Regions from separate parts of the Homo sapiens genome. Here region 1 is linked to region 2. Evidence: promoter capture Hi-C in 16 types of primary human blood cells and fetal thymus (Javierre and others, 2016). All regions are on one chromosome and are shown on one strand. The core of a region is centred on a gene start or on the middle of the fragment in contact, and the rest is flanking DNA. Distances in the headings are between cores, read along the strand shown. Region 1 overlaps SYT9 (synaptotagmin 9). Region 2 holds the start of RBMXL2 (RBMX like 2).

Region 1 (6,178 bases), core at 294-2,793, 330 kb after region 2:
AATAAGTAAAGAGAACTGAGCCCCCGGGAACTGGAAAGCCAGGAGGGCAGCAGCAGTTATTTACTGAGGATGCGTGGGTTCCAGGCAGAGAGCTTTCCTCTGTTCTCCTGGTGCAGGAAGCTCTCTTCCATGCAAAGCCATCTGAGAGGCCAAGACTAGAGCCTCACCCAGTGTGGGCACCCCTGCCATTGATAGTCAGGTGAGTCTGGTTGAAGTGAACACAGGGCGGCTGTGGAGAGGCAGAGAGGCAGAGAGGCCCCAAACCCAGACAGGGGAACCAAGGGACATCTTTGTTGGAAGTGGGGCAGGAAGGAGAAGGCAGGACAGGGTTTATGGATTCTAACCATCAGGGCACCCAGATGTATTCAAGAAGAGCCTAGGACCCCCTAATTTGCGGGTTCTTAAGGATAGTTCTGCCCGTGGGCCATAGGAGCAAAATTGATCCCTAAGGGAGACCCACAGGATCTATGAGCCACTTGAGAAGGAGCTGGAGACTGGTGCTCACTGAACTATACCTCACTTCTTCAGCTCCTGGTGGAATTCTCAAAGGAGTCCATCTGTGGGCTCATTAGATTTTGGGGGCCTGTCACTAGCAGTGGCATTTAGAAGAGTTGTAATAGACTTTTTGCACCCTTATGAGCCATTGCTGACTTTAATTCTTATTGGTAATTAGGAGTATCAGAGAGTGTTAAAGCTCTGTGCTTCTCAGGAAACAAGAAATGAGAAAGGAGTAAGGATGAGGTGTGTGGTGTAGGGCTGAGAGGTGAGCCCTGATTCATGCACAAGCAGTTTTTTTTCAGTGACCTGGGCAGGGGAGTAGTCCTGGGTGGAGTGTTGCACACGGGTCCCTGAGTGGCAGTATATGCACGTGTTACACAAAGGAGAGTGCAGGGAGCAGGCCTTGGAGGCCTTTTCCTTCACTGTGGAGAAAAAGTGTGATATAAATTCATTCACCTGAGAGATATTCCTCAAACCCCAAACACTCAGCTTTTTGGAAATCTGTGCTCCACAGTTATGTAACTGAAAAGTAAATGCCATTAGGGTTAAACCACTGAAACTTAGAAGTCATTTGTTACAGCGGCTAAAATTACTTTGGCCAATACAATGGTCATTTCTGAACTGTTACAGCAGAACTAAGGAAATGAAATGCCTGTGGGGCTTATATGAAGGGCAAGCCTTCATATAAGCAGGGGGAGGGCAAACCTTCCTATAAGCAGAGGCAGAGGGAGGCTGCCTCTTCCCCGTTGCTTCCTGTCTCTTTGAAGTACACGTCTGGGACTCCAGATCCATCCTGAGAGAGGAAGTGATGCTTTTTCTTTTAAAAATGAACATTGAGCTGGCAGAATTGGGGCAATGGTACCAGATGAGATGAAAAACAGTATTGGAGAGGTTGGCCATGCTTCGTTAGCAGCTGTAAGGATGGAGGAGGCAACAGGCAGACTGGCCAGAAACATTCACTTTGGAGTTGGAAGGACCTATATTCGAATTGCTGTCCTGCCACTCACTAGATGTTTGTTTTTCCCCTTCTGAACCTCAGTGTTCTCATCTGTAAAGTGGCCATAACAGTGCTTGTCTCACAAGAGGGATGGTGAGGATTAAACAATCTATTTATATGAAATGCAGCATTGTAGCTGATATATAATAAACACTCAGTAAAGTTTTCAGTTATAGTTGTTATTATGTATGCCCCACATTCTGAGGGGCTGCTGTGTGTCCTTATGGGCCTATGTCCTGTGAAGAAATATCATCCATGTGTGTCATGGAGAATAAGAGAAAGGCCGGGAATCCACCACTCCTGCACCCCAGTGAGCCATCATCTCAGAGTGGGGGGAAGGGGTCATCCAGTACTTGGCTAAACACAGATGCACATATTTAAGTTTTGTTTCTTTCCTCTTTTCCTTGGCCTTAAAGACAGGCTGCTGTTATGCTCTCTAAGAACCTTTTAAATGTCTTCTTTAAAACAAAAACCAGCAATTAAATCTCAGTGCTCATGATAACAGAGTATGTGAGTGTGCACTCATGAGCATGTGTGTATGGAAGACAGAGAGAGAGGGAGAGAGAACGAAGATGGGGGCCCTGGGATTTAGCATGGAGGGAGGCTGGCCTGGCAGAAGCTCTTCACTGCTGAGGAATTGGTTAGGTCTAAACTCTGAGCCCTGCAGAGATCTGGCAGCCTGCTCAGGGTTGCATCCAATACACCCTGACCTTGCCAGGGCAGGTGGCAGATGGAATCTTCAAAGCCAGTGAGTTCAAAAATCCGTTTCTCTCGCAGGAATTCTGGATGAATTCACTGCACACTCAAAGGTCAGCCAGTAGGGCTCCCTTTACTCCCCATGATGCCAAAGGTTTGGAAAGCTGTGAAAACTCCCCCAAGCAGACTGCCTAGGGCTTAGGAATCGGAGCACCCCCTCCATAGGGCCTCAGATGACAGAGCTCTAAGAGCTCCCTTAGCACGGCACCCTCCTCCACCAATTCAAGAGAAGATGGTTTCGGCCTGGCCATATCACAACACCTTTCCTGCCTCCTGTATGTCAAGATGACCAACATCATAAGCCTCATGGAGAATAATAGGAAATAGTTCCAAGTTTTCATCGCTTCCCTGTGTAGTGCCATGTAACATCTGTTGTATGAATAAGTACTAATCTTGGTTTGGTGGGAAGACGAGACACAGACACTATCTGGTTAAATGAAATTTCACTTTTCTAAAAGAAGAAAGAGAATCCGATCAGAATATATAGTCAAGATCAGCACTATTATCCTATAGGCATAGGTGTAGGATTCCAAACACCAAAGTTCTACTCAAGGCGTGCCCCATTTTGGATGTCTGCCTCACTCCAAGCTCAACCTTTGTGCATACACGTACATACAGCTACAAAAGTTCTGCATGTCTGACTGTCTGCTGGGACCAGCTCATTGAGCCTCCTGCCCCTCTTCAACTCAGAATTACATAATGCCAAGTATAACCAGAAGGCAGTTATGGTACAATATGCCCAGACATAAACAGAGCCCTCATTTATCACCCTCAGCCTCTAGAAGGGTATAAACTTAGAGTCAAAGGACTACAGCAACTGTCAGTTACCCAGACTTGTAGTTACACAAGCAGCCCGTGTAAACCATCTCTAGATATTATCTGTCAAGTGTCCAGCAGGGCCTATCTGGAGTCTTGGAGATCCACATATTCCCAGGAGAATGTATCTGATTGCCCAAGATTTGATTAGGTGTCCATCCCGGTGCAATTTGCTGTAGGTCTGGGGTCATGAAAATGTGACCTGGACCTACCTCAGCAGGAGTTTTGGGAGTAGACTTCTTGAGAAGAGTCCGCACAGGACAGGGAAATTGTCTAAAATGAACATGAATGACTGTTTCCCAAAGGAATTTAAAGTGAGGAGTGAGAGGCTTTAGCACTGTGGCCAAATTGTTATTCACAACAGATTTAGGAAAGGAGCAATTCACCAGGAAAGATGGGAGTGGGGAGAGCATGGGGTGACTGGGAAAAGCCACGTAGGAAATCAGGTTCCCATCAAGGGGATTTGGGTGTGTTGCAGGGCTTGGGTCTTGTTGAGAACCAGACTAGCAGGGAAGAACACTGAGACAAGACAAAAAGAAAAGCATGGACTGAAACGTACAATAGGGAAAGTCCTAGAAAGTGCTGCTACTCAGCAAGCATTAAGGCCCCCAAGACTGCAGGTCTTTGGAAACACCTGAATTCCAGACCCCTGTCAGTTGGTGGGGAACCAAGGCTGCCAATTCCATGCATTGCCCTCTGAAGGAGTGGCTTATGGGCTAGATAAATGAACATAGCAAAAGCCTAATACGTGTGTTAGGGGATGGCGAAAGAGAAGTGAGCAGTCAGGACGTGGAGGGCTACATGCTGCTGCAATATCTTGCCCATATGATGAGGTGCTCCCCCCCAATATAGTCCAGCATCGTGTCTCATGTCTCAGTGTCTCTGAGAACAAAATTTTTGTTATGAATGAAAACAGAAAAAACAAGAAACATTTAAATCACATTAAAATAGGGCAAGAAAACATAAATTTATTTATTATCTGAAAGGATACATACCATCTTGGTAAGAAACAGGAAGAGGTAAATGAACTTTATCTTGCTAATTAGTAGTTCTCGGTCTTTTCCAGGTTATGTCAGTCTCTTTGGGATAATTATTTTCTCCTCTTCCTAGGAGTCTCCTCTCTCCTTCCTTCCTCCCTCCCAGCTAGGTATAGGGAAGTACAAAGGCTACCTCGTGGCATTGGCTGGAACTGTGCATATTGTTCTGCTTGTCTTTGGGCATCAGACTTCATCATCACTACCTCTGCTGCTGAGGATCATGGCTGGTGTAACTGTGGGCTATAGTCTCAGCATAGAAACTTGGCCACCTTGAGGCTGATGAGACCCCACATCAGCTGTTGAAGTCCCTGTGGATCCCTGAGGGCAGGTAGCACCTCCCACTCAATGCTTGGCCTGGGAGCTTTTCTTTGCAGCCCTTAATACAGAGTCATTCCCCACTTGGTGGAATTCCCTGAAATTCTAACAACCAATACTCTCACATCCTTCAGGCATTTGGGCACACAAGGGAGCCACAGGAGACTCAGTGCCATCACAGGCATCTTCTTCATGCCTATAAAGTTACATGGTCATTTCTACATTGTTCCTCTAGCCTGTGTTGGCCCAGGGGTCATGTTTGCCTTAAGCTTCCCCCTCAATCCATCTAAACTTGGGGTTTCAAGCCTGAACGGTAAAGCCAGAACCTCTCCTCCTCTCTTCTCTGTATCTCTTCTGCCAAAGGGTCTCTGCTTCCTCTACCTGTCTGGTGGAAACAATATATATCTTAGCATGATTTCCCTCTACCTATGACTCACGCTCAGACCTCCAAGGTTTCCTCTCAGCATGTAAGGAAACATTTGGAATTTGGATCCCCTTTTTCTCAATAAGGCCTGGCTTTAAGATAAAGTTGCATGGTCATTTCTACATGTAACATGAAATAAGATACTTATTTCATAGGAGACTAGCTGATCATTTACCTTGAGTTATCAGCCCTCAGCTTCCAAGAATATATGGCGTTTATTCAATGCATGCATTTTCTGATTTACAGACAATAAGAACATTATCTCTGTTACGTAGGTATTGAGTTAGCATTTGGTGAACAAATGAAAAAAAAATGAATGAATGAGATATATATAGAATGAATTGAGTTCCCTTCGTTCTAAAGTTCCAGAATTCCCATGCAGTGGAGTACACAGTAGAAGTCAGTTCAGACAAGGTGTAAAAAGGTATTGAGAATGGATTTGTATTAGGCTGTTCAAATAGAGATGGCCCTTATTAAGCTCCAAGTTTTAATTACCTTTTCTCTATTTAGGAGAAGAACATGAAAAGGGACCAATTCCTCCCTTGGTTCCAATAAACTGCCACGTAATGACAATGGCTTTGCATTTTTGAATAATGAGAAATATTCAGAACTGAGGCCCCTTAGTGAATCATGAGGGTCCCCCTCTACTTGATGTAGGCAGCCAAGTCCTAGAGCGCTCAATATGTCCTTTCATAAGAGAGAAGAAACACACAGAGATCCCAATGGTGAATGGCAGACTGCTGTGCCCTAAGTGAAAACTGATCAGGAGGTGACAAGGACTTTAGCCCACAAGTTGACCTTTCTCACTAGGAATATATTTTAGCAGCAGTTTTACACAAGGTAATGCTTTGCCCCATCTACCTGTGAAGATAAAGAAGAGAAAAATAATAGGAATGGGGTATTTTTTGACAAAATGAAGAAATTATTCTTCAGATTTTGTTGTAAAAAATAAACTATTTTGAATGGTGAGATTTAGCATGCCAGCACGCATAAACACCTGCAGGGCCGCTGAAGCAAAACTGATTGCAGAGAACATAAAAATCTACTACAAGTTTAGGATCTGAAAAACATTAACAGACCTGTTAGAATTTGTGTCAATTGCTGTAAGTGGCCAGAATGCTGTTTGGACAAGCAGGCACTGTTAGTATTAGTGGGGCATTGTGTTTCCAGCTGGTAGAGGTTATGGTTAACAAACAAAGCTAGGGCCATTCAGACCTTCCCAAGCAAATCTTCTTTCTTGTATTGAATTATCTGTAGAAAAAAAGAGAGAGAGACGGTAGGCATTTTCTCATCTTTGTCAGGGATGGGTGACTTTTGTGACTTTTCTGAAGGTTT
Region 2 (5,947 bases), core at 1,565-4,064:
CTCCACATCCTTACCAACACTTATTCTTTTTGTGCTTTTGACAATAACTATCCTAATTGATATAAGATAATAAGATTATTACATTTTCTTCAGTCATGGGGAAGTTTCAATTAATGTCCGAGATTGAGCTAGTAATTGACTCAGATGTAAATTCTCCACTTCAAAGTACCTGTAGTTGTTGCTGGAAGGCCCTCCAGGCTTTTGCCACAAGCCCTAATCTACCCTCCACACAGGTCCACTATGCACAGAATTTGTGCATCCTAGCACTTCAGGTTTTATTCTATACTGTGTGGGCTTCAACAATCTTGTTCATTTCTATTTAGCAAATATAATTAATATTGCTTAAAGGCAGAATTTATATGCCTTGTGTTTTATAGCACTAGGTAGGGAAACATTCCCCAGTCAGACACAATATCCATTCCCAGAATACATTCAGGTAAAAGAGACACAATCATTTCACATAAAGCCTGTGTAAGCCCTCCAATTTTTGCCCAAACTTTGATCTTGATCCTATCATTTTTTGCAGAGCAGAGACCCTGTTTCAGGGGCCTCTGCAACCCCTCTCCCACAAATATGGAAATAAAGGAAAATCTGGAGTTCCTTTAAAGGAAATTCCATGCATCTAGCTAGCCCTGAGGAATGAAGTTAAGGAACTTCATCAGATTCCTTAAATGAATAAGGAACTTGATAAGCAAGAAAGTAATAGGAACCTAAAACAATAACCATGGAAGTTAAGAGTCAGGAGATTTTTTGTTCCCCTATAGACACTAAATATAATGTCTTAACATATGTCCCTGAGTTGTCTTTCAGAAACCCAGATCCCACCAAACAGTTCCACAGACAGGTAGACCTCAGATAAGAGGGAACTGGGGACTAAACTCTGACAACCATTCTTTGTTCTAAATATCTTCCTGAGGGGCCTGGATGGAGTCACACTCAGGAGCCAAAGCTCATTCTTTTCTGCTGACTGCAAATTCTCTTCCTTCACCAACTGCAAATCAGAAAATCTTTGAATCTACCTATGACCTGTAAGCCCCCCACTTCAAGAGATATCTCTCCTTTGGGCCAATACCAATGTGTAACCTCCATGTATTGACTTATGATTTTGTCTGTAACTTCTGCTTTCCTGAAATTTACATTTTCCTTTAAAAACCTTTACCTGTAAGCCATCATGGAGGTCAGAATTTAAGAGTAGCTGCCTGGTCTTCCTTGCTTGGAGCCCTGCAAATAAATGCCCTCCTTTTTCCTGCTGCAAACCTCAGTGTGGCTATCTGGTCTTATTGTGCCAGGAGAGCATATCTCAGTTAGGTTTGATTAGTAAGTGGCACAAGTGAACCCTCTGGAGTGATGGAAATGTTATAGATTTTAATGTGGGTCATGGTTACATGGATATACACACGTAAAATTAAGCAGTAAACTTGATTTTATAAGTAAATTTATAAACTTAGCATTTTTAAGTTAGCATTCAATAAAAACATTAAGGGCAGTCATTCGAAAAAGTAGAAATAGAAGGCATAACTTCTTCCATAGTGGAGGAAAAAGAAACAAAGACAAATCACTTACTACAAGAAAAGGCAAGAAAGATGGAAAAAAGGAAGAAGGAAAGGTTTGGCTGATAGCAAAGATTTAGGAAGAAATTGCAAAAGTACCGAAAGTTATAAGCATCACACAAAATGGACTAAGGTAAAAAGGTTTTTACGAATAAGGAGGATCATTACATAAAAAAGGTATTCACCAGAAATACGTAGCAATTCTCAATTTTTATATATCTCACAATATAACCTTAAATTACATGAAGCAAAAACCAGACATAAAGACAAAGAGAAATTTACAAATCCACAATTATGGTAAATTTTAAGACAGTTCTAGTGTTTGGCAATTCTATCAAATAAAAAACAAGTTAGAAAAGGGAAGATTTAAATATCAGAAAATAAGAAAGAACTTTGTCCAACATTTAGAGAATACACTTTCTGCTCAGTATATATGGAACATTAATTACACCATATTAGGTCACAAAGCAAGTCTCAACGAAAAACAATGGATATCGTACAGAGCATATTAAAAAATAACCAACAGGCACATATGTTTGAAAATTTACAAACATACTTCTTTAATACATGGTCCAAAAAGGAAATAACAAAGATGAGAAAATCTTAGGAACTGAACAACAATGAAAACAACATATATTACAGCTCAAGGCATGATATTAACCAGTGCATAGAGAATAAGTTTTAACCTTAAATATAACAATTAGAAGAAACATTTTTTAAACTCTTAATGTGCTAAGTGTCTTATTTAAAAAATTAGAACAAAATAATATAAACAATAAATCCAATAAATGTAGAAAGAATAAAGACAATAGCACCAAATAAAATCAAAACAGAGGATAGACGAGGCTAAAAGCTGATTAGTTTAAAAAGATCAGTAAGGTAAAATTTAAACTTGTTAACTGTTATTACTCTATTTTTCAATAATTGAAAAATGATTTTTAACTTAATAATTTTAGTAATTTAAAAAATTCATACTATTTTTTTCTGTTTGAAAATGGTTTGGGTAGCTTAGGTTTGGGATCATTACAATTGTTCTCATTAAAACTAATAGAAAAAAATTTTTTTCCACCTAACGGCTTTTCCCTGAGCTTTCAGGAGGCCATTGAAGCCGTTAAGACCGGGTCAGGTGAACAGGAAGTTAAAGACTGAAAAGGAGACACAAAACTGCCGACTTTCCCGACGGCGAATTGGCCCTCTGGAAACAGCCGACCAATCACAGGCAGCAGGGGCGCGCCCTGCAGCGGGGCTCCGGCTGCGGTTCCGTGGACTCGGCGACTAGGCGCCGCCTGACCAGTAGGAGCCGCCCTCGACGAGCGAGCTCGAAGGCTGCGACTGGCGCCGCCTCACCGCCTCCCACCGCCACTGACCGACCGTTCGACCGGCAAACATGGTTGAAGCGGATCGCCCGGGGAAGCTGTTCATTGGGGGCCTCAACCTCGAAACCGACGAGAAAGCCCTCGAAGCCGAGTTTGGCAAGTATGGCCGCATCGTCGAGGTGCTCCTGATGAAAGACCGAGAAACCAACAAGTCGAGGGGCTTCGCGTTCGTCACCTTTGAAAGCCCCGCAGACGCCAAGGCCGCCGCCAGAGACATGAACGGCAAGTCCCTGGATGGTAAGGCCATCAAGGTGGCCCAGGCCACCAAACCGGCGTTCGAGAGCAGCCGGCGGGGCCCGCCGCCTCCCCGCAGCCGCGGTCGCCCGAGGTTCCTGCGCGGAACCCGCGGGGGTGGCGGCGGCCCGCGGCGTTCCCCATCCCGGGGCGGGCCCGATGATGACGGCGGCTACACGGCGGATTTCGACCTGCGGCCCTCCAGGGCCCCGATGCCCATGAAGCGTGGGCCGCCGCCGCGCAGGGTCGGCCCACCCCCCAAGAGGGCCGCGCCGTCGGGCCCGGCTCGCAGCAGCGGCGGTGGAATGCGCGGGAGGGCCCTGGCCGTGCGGGGGCGAGACGGCTACTCAGGCCCACCGCGCCGGGAGCCGCTGCCCCCGCGCCGCGACCCCTACCTGGGCCCGCGGGATGAGGGCTACTCGTCCAGAGACGGCTACTCGAGCCGAGACTACCGCGAACCCCGGGGTTTTGCCCCCTCGCCCGGAGAGTACACCCACCGCGATTACGGCCACTCCAGTGTCCGGGACGACTGTCCCTTGAGAGGCTACAGCGACCGAGACGGCTACGGAGGTCGCGACCGTGACTACGGGGATCATCTGAGCAGAGGCTCCCATCGAGAGCCCTTTGAGAGCTACGGAGAGCTGCGCGGCGCCGCCCCAGGACGGGGGACACCGCCATCTTACGGAGGAGGAGGCCGCTACGAGGAGTACCGGGGCTACTCACCCGATGCCTACAGCGGCGGCCGCGACAGTTACAGCAGCAGTTATGGCCGGAGCGACCGCTACTCGAGGGGCCGACACCGGGTGGGCAGACCAGATCGTGGGCTCTCTCTGTCCATGGAAAGGGGCTGCCCTCCCCAGCGTGATTCTTACAGCCGGTCAGGCTGCAGGGTGCCCAGGGGCGGAGGCCGTCTAGGAGGCCGCTTGGAGAGAGGAGGAGGCCGGAGCAGATACTAAGCAGGAACAGACTTGGGACCAAAAATCCCTTTTCAACGAAACTAACAAAAAGAAGAACCTGTTGTATGGTAACTACCCAAGGACTAGTACAAGGAAGAGTTGTTTTTACCTTTTAAGAATTTCCTGTTAAGATCGTCTCCATTTTTATGCTTTTGGGAGAAAAAACTTAAAATTCGTTTAGTTTAGTTTTGGAATTGTTAACGTTTCTTTCAACAAGCTCCTGTTAAAAGTATATGAACCTGAGTACTAGTCTTCTTACATTTACAAGTAGAAATTCGATTAATGGCTTCTTCCCTTGTAAATTTTCTTGATAAATGAGGCAAACAGTTCTAAGATCTTTGATAAACATCTGCTCACCTAAAATGGAAAAACGGATCATTCTGCTCATTTAAACCAACTAGATTTTGGGTGGAGAGTGGGAGGGATTGGTGTATGCTACTCTTAAGATTTCAGGGTATCTTTCAAACTGAATCTTTGTTTCCAGTATTAAAAAGCAAACAACCAGCAACAACAACAACAAAAGTGATTTAGATCAAATGTTTATGTAAAGAAAATTATTTTCACTCAGTAAATCTGAAAAGTAAATGGATAATGTTGGCCATGTTTTGCCTTTTTGCTTTTTCTTTGGGAATCTACAGGATCACCTGTCCCCTCACTCCCAAAAGTACTATCTATGTTTTGAACAACAGTGGAATACTATATCAAAGGTTTGGCCAACCAACCACAAAGCTACAAAACAAGCAAATCCCAAATCCTTCAATTGATAGCATTCATTTTCACTACCAACAAATTTATTAAGAAACAAGTAGAAAATAAATCAGTGGTCGACTTGGGGACCGTAATGGCTTCCATTCCTAACTCCAAGCTACTTGCCTTTGGCTCTAGAGCCAGCCACTGAGTCCTGTGGAGAGAATTGAGCTTCTTCCCTTAGGGGTGGAGGAATCAAAAGTGAGCAGCTTCAGAGCTCAGGAGCAAAGGTCAGAGAATCCCTGAAAGAGCTTGGCGTTTCAACCTCTGAGGATCTCAAACTGGCATGAAGGGGCTGGTTTTCCTGTCCACAAAAGGCGAGGGGTTGGATGGGTTGTTTCCTAGTTTTAAGGTGGGGAGAAGGGCTTCAACAGAAAAAGATTAGAGTCTTTCTCCAAGATCTGTCAAGAGGAACGTAAGTTTCCTCTTAAACATCTTTTCCATTCAGCACCTGTGGATTCCCCAATTTATCTGTGAGAAAGGTAATTGTACAGTCAAGGGACTGTAGCAACCAGAGAAAGAAGGATGGGGTTAAGGTTGATGACCCATGTTCAGTGTAATAATTGCTGGAGGAAACAGATAAGGGAACAACAGCAAAAAGTACTTAAAGGGATCTGAATGCAACACACATACACAACTTTTAACAACATGATTTTTTTTGACAATAATAAAGTAGGTGCATTAAAGGAGAGGACACACTAGTGGCTCAGAAGAGCAAATGCAAGAAATAGCTAAAAAATGATCCAGGAATTAATCTAACAAAAATATGTAAGATCTTTATGAAAAAATTAATCTTTATTAAAGGACATAAAAGAAGAACTATAAGAGATTGATATACTCATGGTTGGGAGGACTTCATTATCAACTATTCTCAACCTCATCAAATTAATTTGGAAAAACAATACAACTTCAAATGAAGTCACTTCATGATTTTTTTCACACAGCTCCCCTCCCCTCTTCCCGAATAACACCATTTATTTGTGTTGATCAATGATGGAATAATAAAAGATTTGGTAAACCAACCACAAAAAATCAATAGCTTCATTTCACCACCAACAAATTATTAAGAAACAAGTATTTAGAA

What was found. The method cuts DNA at HindIII sites, captures the fragments that hold promoters and counts their contacts. A CHiCAGO score of 5 or more calls a contact.
Region 1: a contact is called between a fragment that was not itself captured here and the fragment with the promoter of RBMXL2 in region 2, in 1 of 17 cell types (total CD4 T cells). The highest score is 5.1, in total CD4 T cells.

The regions. Positions count from the first base shown.
Region 1 is chr11:7,421,951-7,428,128 of GRCh38, forward strand. The region is part of intron 6 of SYT9 (synaptotagmin 9); the gene reads left to right. Among named protein-coding and RNA genes, the nearest start is that of SYT9-AS1, 41 kb to the right of the region's middle. RefSeq lists a silencer at 1,141-1,200. The HindIII fragment of the contact is 6,285 bases long and covers 1-4,686 here.
Region 2 is chr11:7,086,184-7,092,130 of GRCh38, forward strand. It overlaps RBMXL2 (RBMX like 2), which reads left to right and starts at 2,815. Exons shown (of 1, transcript NM_014469.5): 1 at 2,815-4,965. The coding sequence starts at 2,938. The coding sequence ends at 4,116. It also overlaps a transcript of NLRP14 not described here. The HindIII fragment of the contact is 13,917 bases long and covers 1-5,947 here.